Linked DNA regions of Homo sapiens: regions 1 and 3 are each linked to region 2. The links are contacts of gene promoters, found by promoter capture Hi-C in blood cells and fetal thymus (Javierre and others, 2016). All regions are on one chromosome and are shown on one strand. The core of a region is centred on a gene start or on the middle of the fragment in contact, and the rest is flanking DNA. Distances in the headings are between cores, read along the strand shown.

Region 1 (4,322 bases), core at 528-3,027, 5.3 Mb before region 2:
TCTCGTTTTCTGGCTTCCCACCTCAGATGGCTGCTTCCCAAAGGCATTACCTTCGCCACCCCCACCACACGTTCTCTGGCTCCCCGTGGCGTGTGCCACAGCGTGTCTGAGATAGCCTCGTTGAATGTGTAGGGTTCGAGCCTGGAGTTGAGCCAGATTGTGTCGTTTTACTTGCCTTGGGCGTGGAGAACGATCTTGTGAGAATATCTTCAAAGGCAGAAAAATATTCCCTTTATGAATTCTCTTTCCCTCTGCGTGTAAGTCGGGAATGTGAAGAGGAGTGTAGGAAAGAGCCCTGGTTCAAGTAGGTAAATCGCATGAGAGGGAAAGTTAAACTGTTGGGAAAGCCCCTTCTATGCTAATTGATTCTATAGAGTCCTTGCTTGTCTCACTTCTTGGGCGTCAGTGGTCTTTCTCTTGGATATGGATGCTGCAGTCAGCTCTGCTGGTCTGGGTCAGGGGTGCGTGTATGACCTGCATTTTCTGCTTTCTCATGTTACTTGTGCAATGTATTCACCGGTAACTCATTTCTTTCCCAGACCTCTGGGTTCCACTGGGCTTTGTCTATATTTAAGTTCATTTCTCCAGTTTCCTTCCTGCACATAGGTACTGAACGAATCCCCAAGTTCTGTGCTAATTACCTTCATCAGTTGACTAAACAAGTTTTTAGATGACATATTTGTGACCAAGGTCATATTTACATTTCTTTGTTGGACAGATGTTACATAGCTATACTTGTGATTGGGGAGGATCCAGCTGAGTGGAGTGTGCTGAGCTTTTTAGGAGAGTGTGTACTCCCTATTTGAAATTATTTTTTGGTTGTTAATTTTATATTATTAATGTTTTTAGGTCACAGAAAGTTCTAAGTGGTAATTTTAGATGTGTGGGATCTGAGCTAGGACTAAAGCAGAGAATACCCACGTAATCAGAGGTTTCTGGGCTCCATAGAGGACGTAGGGCTTTTTTTTTTCTATTGGATTTCTTCCAGTTTTCTCAGGATCATTAGTTCTCTTCTGTAGCCAAAAATTCTGGCCTGTTATGGGATTAGAGTCTTTAAGGTTTACTCAGACTGTCATTATGTGTAGAAAAATGAATTATGCCCTTTGGTAGGACATGACACAAGGCTCTGTTTCTAGCTGCAAATTTAAATTAGATTGTAGAGTGCTTGGGAAATTGGCTTTCAAAAGACCAAAGCTTAATCTTCACTCCTAAACTGCTGGCTTAATTAAAATGGATATTTAGAATTTGGTAAATGTTGATTTTTCTAATAAAAGGCCTTGGTTTAAAAGGGTGACCTTAGGATTGTTTCTTTCTTAAAAGCATAATTCCAGCCCTTCTGGCATGGAGCACTGGTCCAAAAAAAAAAAAAAAAAGTGTGTGTAAGGAGTGGGGGTGGGGTAAAGAGAAGGTTGTTCCTTTGGGTTGGATCACAGGGGTGAGTATACAAGGCAGCAGCAGCTGCTGGCTCTGGAGCTCTGGTTGCTACGTGAGAAGCTTGAGTAGTGCTGGCTGCTGTCTCCAGGGAAGGACAGCAGTGCAGCGTCCATTAATGCTGCTGGCTGCAGGGAGCAGCACTTAGGCGATGGCTGCTTCAGGACTAAGAAGAAACCTTGCTTTTCTGGGAATTTTCACTGCTGAGCTGGTTTGCTTTTTATTGGTGGGGAGATGGGAATTAGTAATTCATAATCTCCTACCCATTTATGGATATTGGCATCTGGAAACTGGATCATGGTTAAAGCCTTTCTTTTTTTGTTTGTTTGATTTGATTTTTGTTTTTTGGCAGATTTTTGTTTTTTATCTAGACATTTGTGCTTGGATAGGACTAAAAGTTCCATTAGAGTTTTAATTTTTCAATCAGTTTAAAAACCCAAGTAATAATTTTAAGAATCTTTCTGATAACCACAATAGGAAGAAAATAACAGGAATTTTTTCCTGCAGCTCACATATCATGCCTTCCTCCATCTCTTTAATCATAGAATCAATTCTTATTATTTTGTTATGTGTCTCCATCCTTTCGATTAGACCACATTTACCTTATAGACGATTTGCTAAACATTTTACTAAGCTTGAACTCTTAAACTCTAAAAAGGTGCCATTTTGGAGTGGTTTCTAAATAAATATTTTTAATTTGTATATTAGTAATAAACTTCTCCAGATTAGATATTTTCTTTGGAGTTTGACTTATAAGATTGATTCATTATATACATGTTGGATATAGCCTTCTGACATCACAAATATATGTCTTTGGCCATAATCCATCTGAAATGTAGGACAGACCAGAAGAAATATGCAGAAATCGAATAAGTCTAGTTCAGGATACTGAGAAGATGGCCTCTGAGCCCCTTAGGTGATCTCCCCTCCCCCACAACTCCTGAACATTAGGATGATCTCTGATTAAGCAAAACAGTCTGAGCGTGGAAAAACTTGAAGGAGAACCACCACCACCAATTATATGCAATACTGGACATATTCCTGTGTGCTGTTTTTCTTCCCCAAGACTCGTGTATCCTATACTTTTTTCTCTCAGAATTTTGATTTGTTCATTTTCGTGTAAATGTACTTAAATCTCACAAACATCTATAATTTGTAGTATCACTCTGGCATTTGTGGCAGAGAACCAAAAAGAATGGAAATGAGTTTTGTCATTCACAAATGTGGCTCACATTGTTTTCCCAGTAATAAAAGCAGACCAATGAAACAGAACCTTTAATGGATACTATTTTAGGAGGTTCCAATTCTTATTACTATCACATAGATAAGATGCAATAGCAGATAAATATGATTTCATGTATACTGGCTGTTTGACATACTTAGGGTTTAAGATAAAAATGTTTGTAGTTTTTTACTCTGTGGCTTAAGTTGCTATATAAAATAATTGCTTTTACACTCGAATTTCCTGTTGTTTGGAACCTTTTGTGCTCTTGATATTATCATTTTTTAGAGGATCATACAGGCCCTTTTCATAGAAGGATTTACTTAAGTTATACCCTTGAAAACTTTTTTATATCTTTTGATACTGTTTTGTGTCCAGGAACTGACTTTCTGAAATTATTCTGGCTTTTCTGGGGAGAATGACTATTTCATTTTTACCTTTGAATGGGGAAATAATAAAGTGCAAAGTACAGATTTGCAGATAATTACTTTTGCTTTATCCTCTCCATGTTGAAATAACTTATGAAAAATTAGGCCATAGTTAACAGCAGTCAATGACTATTGGATACATTTTATCAGAGGGGAACTGGATCATGAATAAAATAAAATTTTAAAAATAATTTTTGGCTGAACTCTGGTGATTCATCAGTTTAATTTGAAGTCAGAAGGTCTAGCAGTGAATTTTATTTATAAAAATTGTATTTCAAGTGTTGAAAACTGAAACTTCTTGACCAGTATATTTTGTTTGAGGCATCAAACTTTGCAAAATGTGCATCGTATATTTAGTGATATAACTGGTAGTCATTTGTAATTTAAAGTATTCTTTCAAAGGCACTCTTTAGAAAGTAATGTAGTGTACCCGTGATGGGCAGGGATTGGTACCATTCCTTACTGCCAAAAATTCCAAAATATGTGGCAAAATGATTGATTTATCTTGTGGGTGGGATTCTGGGAAGTTCATGAAAGGTGGAGAGAATATAGTTTCCTTCACTTGTCTATATACATTTTGTTAAATAAGTCTTAGGAAAACTGTTTTATTGTATCTTTAATTATGAATTGCGTAAAAGATACCCAGTAACTTTGGGGGGAGGTGCTGTTAGAAAGCATTACATTGGAGAGAATTCCCCTACCCTGGGACAAAATGCATTCTGTCTTTAATACTTAGCGAAGGGAACTATGGGATAAAATAAACAATGAAGGTAAGCTCAGTCTGCTTTATATGTGCCCTCACTGAGCAAGGAATTTGTAATCGCATCGTGCCTCATTCGTTTATACCATCATATTGATTTTGTTTGCTGAGTACCTGAGGGAATACCTTACTTAATGTAAGGTCACATTAAGTATGTTTGATATGAAGACAGGGAAAGGAATTTTCTGCTTCTTGGAGTAATGTCTTAGTATTTTTAAAACACTTAAGTTTTTACATCAGGCCAGTTTTGCCTGATGCTCATGTCTGTTGCTTTGGTTGGGCTGCTGCTTTCTCTTCTGTGTTCTTATGGGTTCGTTGTGGTATAAGGATTCCCACAGCTTTCATGGCAGTATGAAGTAATGAGAAGCATTGCCTTAGCCATGTTAGTTACATGTATACTTTTGGCCTATGTTATGAATCACAAAAAGCGGTAGCTATAGGAATGTATACAAAATAGATTTCTGTCTGGGGAATCAAGTTT
Region 2 (4,059 bases), core at 734-3,233:
TAATACCTTTTAATGTTTCACATTTTCTTTCAGAAGATTTGTAACAAAAACACATGGAATTTAGTATGTGTTTCAGTAAAATGGGTAAATACAGAATCTGAACAAGACAAGTCTATAAGGTATAATCCTTCTTGTGGGGACAGAACATTCCACTCCATTAAGAAAAGAGAATCACAACATTATTAGGCCCGATTATCTCATATTGCTTACTGTTCTAATTTCAGAGACTGGCGGACTTGGAGAAATAAACAAATGAAAATAAATAAATAAGACTGAACACAGTCAACTGCCTCAATTCCCCTCTCCTTTTCCCTTTTCCCATTTTCTCCATAAAGACAGATGAGATGAGGATGTGATGAGTCTCATTTTTCTTCTCTCTAATATGGTGGATAATAGGTCCGCTTCTAGGATTCTTGCAAGGATTATATAATATAATCTATGCAAAGAGTCATACACATGCCCCACATATACTAAATGCCACTGTTACAATCATTATGATCACTTTCGTCTTGCTGCTGTAACAAATTGCCACAAGTTTGGTGGCTTAAAACAACACAAACGTATTCTGGTAGAGTTCTGGAAGTCAGAAGTTTGAGATGAGTGTTACAAGACTAAAATCACCGTGTCAGCAATGCTGCATTCCTTCTGGAGACTCTGGAGGAGGGCTCATTTCTTTGCTTTTTCTAGCGGCCTCCTGCATACCTAGGCATGTGGTCCCACTCTCCCTCTTCAAAGCATCTCTGATCTCTGTCTGACTCTGGCCATCCTGTCTACCCCTTATAAGGATGGTTTTGATGATAGGGGACCCACCTGCACAATCCAGGCTAGCTCCCCATCTCAATCGCTTTAATTTCATCATCTCTGCCAATTCTCTTTTGCTATATAAAGGTCACCATATACCCAGATTCTGGGGATTAGAAGGTAGACATCTGGGAGTCGGGGTGAGGGTGATTGGTCTGTCTACCATAATCATTAACATTTTTATCAAGACTAGCTCATTTAACTCATCTAATCCTCACTAAGACCCATTAGGTAAATAAAATTATATCCCCCTTTGGAAACTGAGGCACACGGAAGTTAAGTAACTTGCCCAAGGTCACACAAGCAGTAAGCCGTGAAGAGCGATTCCAACCCAGAAAGTCAGCTTTCGAGTTCACGTGTTCTTTGTTTTTTTTTTTTTTGATCTCGACTCACTGCAACCTCCACCTCCCAGGTTCAAGCGATTCTTCTGCCTCAGCCTCCTGAGTAGCTGGGAATACAGGCGCGCACCACCACGCTCGGCTAATTTTTTTTTTTTCTTGTATTTTCAGCAGAGACGGGGTTTCACCATGTTGGTCAGGCTGGTCTCAAACTCCTGACCTCCTGATCCACCCGCCTCAGCCTCCCAAAGTGCTGGGATTACAGGCGTGAGCCACCGCGCCCGGCCCAGGAGTTCACGTTCTTAAGAGCTGAAATATGTAAAGTGGCCCATAATAAGCACTACATTAATGTTAGCTATTATTCTTGTTATTTCTACTAAGATTAATATAATAATCCTTATCTCGTACGCTCTTTTAAGAACCAACTATTTAACGTGTGAAAAGTGCCAGGCAGCAGGTCCTGGAATTGCAGTTAAGATTCTTCCGGTCCTCCCAATCCACCTTTCCCGAGACGCTCGAGTTCACTTACTTAAGCGTCAGCCTTCCCCAAGATGGCGTTATCTTTGTCGCCAACCCCACATCCGCCCCACCCAATATGGCGTCCATCGCAATCAAAAGCTTTATTCCGCCCTTCTCAAGATGGCGCCCACACCAATCCTTGTTACCTTCCGCCCTCAAGATGACCTTAGCAGTTAGCGTCAACCTCCGCACTCTATGACCTTTCCAAAATGATGGTGAACGTAATACGCACCACACTCTGACCTTCTCAAGATGGCGCTGAGCTGACAAACTCGCGTCGCAAACTCACGCAAACTCAGTGTCGCTGTCGAAGACACTTCCGGTTGCGACGGAGGTAGGCTTACGAGGCCTGTGTCGGGTAGAAAGGGTCCTTCCTGGACCGGGACCCTCTGCCACGACCATGGACCGTAGGAAAAAGCCTTTGGACGTCACGGCCTCCTCGGTGAGTGAGGGTATGAGGTAACTCCACGGGCTCCGGGTTCACCGTGTCTCCATCAGACAAGAATGTCGACCTAGCTTGTTTCTTCACTCGGGGACCCAGAGACCTGACCTCTCCCCTCAAACAGGAACCCCCGAACTGGATTTTCTTCTCCGGCGGGGATCCGGTTCAGTTTTCTTACAGGACCCTGAATTGGGCTACTCTCCTCTGACATGCGCCCGGGCCAGAACCCTCGGACACGGATCTGAACCTGGTGTCCCGTGGGTTAGGAAACTCCGTGCCTCACCTCTGCCCTGCCCACAAGGACCTGCACCTCGTCAGCCTTCTCCCTTACAGTCAGGAGGAACCCTAGCTTCTTTTTGCTATGCAGACATATCCTCTTCCTGGTTTCTCCTCCATCCAGGGACCCACAAAGTCCTCCCAGAACTTTAGAGTGTGACATATTTCGCAGGACCCGAAAGTGTCCAGCGTGCCCTCCCTGGAACTAAACAGTTGTTAATGCAGGCATAGGGAGTTGTGAGGTCTGAAAGGATGTAAGCAGATTTATTACATCAGCTACTCTAGAAAGAAAACTTGTTCTAAGTACACATTTTGTGCCAGCACTTTATATGCACTATCTCATTGAATCCTCCCAATGGCTTTAGGAGGTAGGTGCTATTAATATCTCCGTTTTATGGATGATGAAATTGAGGCCTGGAAAGATGAAGTAGCTTTCCCCAGCTTACAGACAGAAATCTTAGTGATAGCCGGGCGCGGTGACTCACGCCTGTAATCCCAACACTTTGGGAGGCTGAGGCGGGCAGATCACCTGAGGTCGGGAGTTTGAGACCAGTCTGACCAACATGGAGAAACCCCGTCTCTACTAAAAATAAAAAAATTAGCCGGGCGTGGTGGTGCACGCCTGTAATCCCAGCTACTCGGGAAGCTGAGGCAGGAGAATCGCTTGAACCGGGGAGGCGGAGGTTGCGGTGAGCCGAGATCGCGCAATTGCACTCCAACCTGGGCAACAAGAGCGAAACTCCGTCTAAGGGGCGGGGGGCGGGGGGAAGAAATCTTAGTGATAGACCCTTTCTCACTCACTCTACTTGACTCCAAAGCTGCTGCCTTTTCATCATCAGAGCAAATTGCCCAACCTTTGATTTAATCTTGAATTTACTTCAGAGTATTAGGACACAAAGTGAGTAGGAAGGAAAACATATAGGTGTCCCAATATTTGAGTACTAGTTATTATTGGTAACTATTATTGGTTAAAATTGGTACCAGTTATTATTTTGTTTGAAGATCAGGAACCAGAAAGCTATAAATATTAAAGCCAACCTATACTGACAGGTTAGCAGTAATTGTAATAAGAATGCTATTTGAGAATTTACATTTTTTTGAGCATCTCTTAAAGTTAAAGGCAGTTGTAGACTAGGAAGATATGTGGCTGGAAAATTTGGTGTGGTTAAGTAAGCTTAGAAGAAAAAGTAGAAGTTTTTCATTTGTTTTTAAAAATTTCCAGTATTAGGGTCTGCAGTGAAACTGCCCTTTGCATTATTAAATGGTTACCTTTTAAATCGATTTCTTCCAAAACGGAAATTGAACCCAGCCATTTTTATCTTCCTTAACAAATAAAGTGATTTTTTTAAGTATCTGATGATTAAGACAGTGATGAAGTATCTGATTTACAAATGCCCATCCATATAAGCAGCTGTACCTGGACCATTAAAAAGGAAACTGTTGTTATATCCTTTTTTGCAGAGTAGGCAGGGGTAATTAATGTAGCTGAGGGAAAGGTACTAATATTCACCCAACTGCCCCACTCCCTATGCCTTGGCCTTCTTTCCTGTTCTTGAACCGTGTGATTCAGCCAAGCTTACGGTTTTTGAAATGGATTAAGTCAAACGTGGAGCTGTTATAATTCACCCAGTCTATTTTATTTCTAGCTGTTGAAATAATGTGTCTTTAAAGGCTCTGCTCTAA
Region 3 (4,310 bases), core at 1,007-3,506, 5.3 Mb after region 2:
CTATTATAGCAGTCAAGGGTCTTCTGTGAAGAACTGAAATGATGAATAACTGATGGTCACAGCCCTTAAAAACCTTATAATTCAATGAAAGGCTAAGGAGAAAAGTCCAGGTGCTCATTAGCTATTAAAATAAGGCAGATTTTAAGACAGCCATTATACAGAGTAAGGCAAAGTATTGTGAAATTACAGAAAAAATAATAATTGAATCCAGTAGAAGTATCTGCAGATGCGGTCCAAAGGAACTGGTGTCCTGGCTAAGACGGAGCCAGCAGTTATGGGCAATGATAGTGTTCCATGTGGAGAAAATAAAGTGATCAGATACCAAGATGGCAACACACAGGCAATATTCAGGGAACACAGACCAGATACGTGTGATCAGGGAACAAATAAAGAGTATGGGGAGAGGAATTCTATAGAAATAGAATGAAAGAAACTTGGGTTGGGACTAGAGTTAAAGAACTTTAGACTGTCAAGTAATGACATAGCATTGAACATTTTTTAGTAGAGTGGCTAAAATGTAAAGAATGGACAGAAAGAACAGCAGTATGCATTAATTTCAGTTTATATAAACACTACCATGGACCAGGTGTTGGGATTAGACTTCAAATTTGGGGATTAGATAATTTGTTGATAGAATGGACAATGGTTTGTGAGGAGAAGAAAGAGGTGAAGCTGATTCTGCAGTTCCAAGTCTGGGTGACTGGGAGGATGTTAATGCCAGTCTCTAAGCAGAAGCAGGTTTGGAGTGGAATAGGTTTCGTTTTGGGCATACTGTTGACATGACAAAACTGATGTCACATATCCTATTTCCTGACTCCTCCTGGGATTGTCCCAGAGCTATTACCATGATTAATAGTTCATATTGAACAACTCCTTGAGAATAAAATGCCACAGGTATCATTTACGTATGACACATTACGTTCTTCTGGCAACTAGGTAGTTGATCTGAAAGACGGGCTGTTCAAAGTTCAAATCATCTTAATTGCACAATGCCGCCGACTGTACGCCCATAAGATACCTTAACCCGGTACACTTCAAAGACAATATTCTCGCCCTTACAACAGAGCTATACATTGTAAACTGCAAACTGAAAAGTAGCCTTTATTCTGAAGGAAAATCAATTTAATATTCTTCCACTAAATTATCAAAACAATTTTTTTGGCGGAGGCTGGGGAGGGGGTGGTGGCTGAAGCCTCGCCAGAGACTGAATGTGGTGTGGGATTCAACTAAAGCAGCACATCTTCAGTAGGTCCCCCGTGGAGGGTAACGAACATCTTGGGTTGTCTTTCACCAGAATTGTGTTCAACAACTCACGTTCTGGAGCCAACCCGCCGCAGATCAGAATCCAGCTTCTGCACCACACAGCCGTGATCTCGGACAAGTTACTCAATCTCTTGTGTCTCAAATTCTTTACCTATAAAACATCTACAACTAGAACTGAAGACTTGGCTGCCAGGCACTGGGCTAGACATAGATTTACAGCGGTGAGGACCACCAAGGGGAGCTAAAATTCGAATGTAGGGAACAGACGATTAACAAGTTAGTTTCAGAATGAAAGACTCGAGTGTAAGAATTCAATGGGATAATTCCTGTAAAGCGTTTAGTACAGTAAAGAGCGAAGGGAAATTCTGAATAAAAGGCAGACACTATTTTAGGATTTGGCCTTCCCCGCCCCCTACCAAAACCACGTAAACTCTTAACAGAAGCGACTTCTTATTGTCAGGCGCCTAAAGGCGGCTTTTGGGATAGGGAGGGTCCTTTCTTCCTCCTTGGGGTAAATGCGATTTAGCAGCCTTTACCGACCTACCCAACCCCAGGGCCATTTTGTGGGAGGAGGTTCTCTCGTGCTAGACAAGTTCCCTCTAATAAAGCCCCTTAGCCGAGATGCCAGGATTGGGGTTAGGGAACCTCGCCGCTCCCACAAGGGCTGGGCACAAAAAACAAACAAAAAAACACAAGTTATTTTGATCTTCCCCCAAAGAATAGTAAAGGAATTTCCCCCGACCCCGGCCGCCAGGAGCCCAGAGACCCCCCAGCCTAAATAACAATGGCGCTGGAGAGGGCGTGGCCGCGCGTACCTGGGGTGGGGGAAGGGGAGAAAGGCGGCCAGTTCGGATCTGAGCCACTCGCAGGGTCACGTGACATCCTGCCTCGCCCCGCCCCGCGAACAAACCTAGGCGGGGAGGGATTCGGGAAGGGGCGAGGAAGCGGAAGGAGCAGGCGGACTGGCGATGATGGGAAGTGACGAAGTGGCGCAGTTCGCTGCGTGCAGCGACGTGGCGGCGGGGCCGGCACCGGGCAGCGGAAGTGGCTCCGGCGGTGGGACTTGAGTGTTTGTGTTTTGGTTCGTGAAGGAGCCGGCGGCTGGCCTTAGGGGAGGAGGCAGAGGGAGGAGGAGGAGGAAGAATTAGTCGGAACTCCAGCGCCGGCGGCGGCGGCGGCGGCGGAGGAGGAGAAAGGAAAGAGGAAGGGGGAGCGGCGAGAGGCGGAGACGGAGCCCGACAGGGGCGGCACCACGGCACGAGCCCCGCACAGTCCAGTGTGAGGGGAGCGGCGCTAAGAGCAGGCGACGCCGCCGCCGCCACCACCACCGCCATAGATACACTCTCATCCTACGGGCCACGCCTGGGCCTTGCTGCCAGGAAGCTTCGGCCCCGCAGCTCGGCTTGCTGCGGTCTCAGGTAACCGAACCGCCCCTCCTCCTGCGCAGCGGGGGCCTGGACCCCAGGTTATCCGCGGTCCCCAGCCTGTCCGCGGCCCTGCCGGTACTGAGACCCCCCACCCCTTCTCCCTCACGCGCAGCAGTGCCCTGGACCAGAGAACTATCGAACCCGGCGTCTTGTTCTGCCAGCCCTGGTGACTCATCCTCCAGGGGCTCTGGAGACCGGGATTTGGGGACTGACTGAGGGAGCGACGGGTGTCACCCTTTCCCTTCTCAAGATGGCGCCGTGGAAAGTGTACTGGAGGCCGCGGTTCCGCCTGGTCTCCGTCCTGGCAGTCCTGGGGGTCTCGGTCAAAGCAAGGCAGGTTCGGGGGAGGAGGTTGGAAAGGCCAAGGGACCTGGCGAGTGCTGCTTATCCAGGCGATCTGTAGTTGGCTATTAGCTACTCAGGTGCTCTCCAAGCAGGAACCTGGGCCTACTGCAGGTGTCAATGTGGGGAGCTCCGCCTATCTTCAACTTCCAAAGATGAGTAGTGTCGGTGGGTGGGAGGCTCGTCAAAATAGGCTGTCTAGAGACTTGTTTTCTGTTTGGAAGGTAGTGAACTACAGCGTTAAATAAATTCAAGATAACAGGACCGCTGAACTCCTTCACTGGGTAGAGACCATGGAACTTGCTCTGGCGTTATCTTCCCTGGAAGCTGCTTACCTCTGAGACTTTCAAACTTGTTAAGTTCTGAACGTCATAGTTCACATACTTGGTTTTTGTCTTGCTTAAATGGAATCAAAGCGTTCAATCAGTTGCCTTTCACATAATAAGAAAAAAACACTTGTACACCTCTGGGAATACTCAAGACTGCTCATAAACTTTATTCCTAAAGTAAAATGGAAGTGATAACTCAGCATTTGTATAAACAAAGTAAATGGAACAGTGCCTGGCACAAAATAAGTGCCCAGTCAATTTTTTGATCAAAGAACCCTTAGAAGGATTTTAACTATAGAATGAATAACAGTTATTTTCAAAAGATTACAAATGTATATTATGCAAAATTCTTGTTTTGCAAAACAGAAGTTTCAGTAAGCAGTGAATACAAATGAATGCACGTAATTTTTAACCTTAGTGTTATGCTAAGTGTATATTTACCATTAACTTTAGTTATTTCCTGTTTGAGATCCTTAGGGGGAGTAGCCACAATTAAGTAGCTTTAAACCTTAAAAGTCAAAGTGAAATCAGAATCTTGTTTGATTTTTTTTTTTAATGGGAGTCTGATATTTTCCCTAAAATTTTGGAAGTGCCGTAGAAATTTGGAGCATATTGTCCTTGATAAGTAATTTCTTGTTTTCTTAAATAAAAAGACAAATGGAAAATGTTTTGATTGTGTGTAATATCTGAAGATGTATTGGTGCATTTTCAGTATATATGATGTTCTATTGATATTTTATCATTTTCTTATCAAAGGAGCACATTATTGGCAATTTCAATCCCTACTATGTATATTAGAGATTGTTTACATGTATTGTTTTATTTAATTGTCACATCAGCTATGCAAGTTAGATATTATGGGAATAGAAACTTGGAAATTAAAGAGTTTGCCCAGACGGAAATTGGTATAGCCAGGATTACACCCCTAAATCTGGTATGTTTGTGGAGG

What was found. Contacts are between HindIII fragments. The CHiCAGO score rates a contact against its expected background, and 5 or more counts as called.
Region 1: a fragment that was not itself captured here is called in contact with the fragment with the promoter of CCDC174 in region 2 in 1 of 17 cell types (monocytes); the score reaches 5.2 in monocytes.
Region 3: a contact is called between the fragment with the promoter of RAB5A here and the fragment with the promoter of CCDC174 in region 2, in 1 of 17 cell types (fetal thymus). The highest score is 6.2, in fetal thymus.

What each region holds. Positions count from the first base shown.
Region 1 is chr3:9,398,472-9,402,793 of GRCh38, forward strand. All of the region lies in intron 1 of SETD5 (SET domain containing 5), which reads left to right. Among named protein-coding and RNA genes, the nearest start is that of SETD5, 3.0 kb to the left of the region's middle. RefSeq lists an enhancer at 1-11. The HindIII fragment of the contact is 571 bases long and covers 1,493-2,063 here.
Region 2 is chr3:14,649,779-14,653,837 of GRCh38, forward strand. CCDC174 (coiled-coil domain containing 174) reads left to right here and starts at 1,984. Exons shown (of 11, transcript NM_016474.5): 1 at 1,984-2,100. The coding sequence starts at 2,059. It overlaps LOC124909347 (a long non-coding RNA gene), which reads right to left and starts at 2,343. Exons shown (of 2, transcript XR_007095826.1): 1 at 1,891-2,343; 2 at 1-1,448. RefSeq lists enhancers at 1,525-2,183, 1,687-2,086, 2,227-2,296. The HindIII fragment of the contact is 1,793 bases long and covers 1,756-3,548 here.
Region 3 is chr3:19,944,841-19,949,150 of GRCh38, forward strand. RAB5A (RAB5A, member RAS oncogene family) reads left to right here and starts at 2,257. Exons shown (of 6, transcript NM_004162.5): 1 at 2,257-2,681. It also overlaps a transcript of EFHB not described here. RefSeq lists enhancers at 1,138-1,739, 2,150-2,319, 2,245-2,414, 2,276-2,325, 2,846-2,895 and 1 more. The HindIII fragment of the contact is 3,439 bases long and covers 1-2,644 here.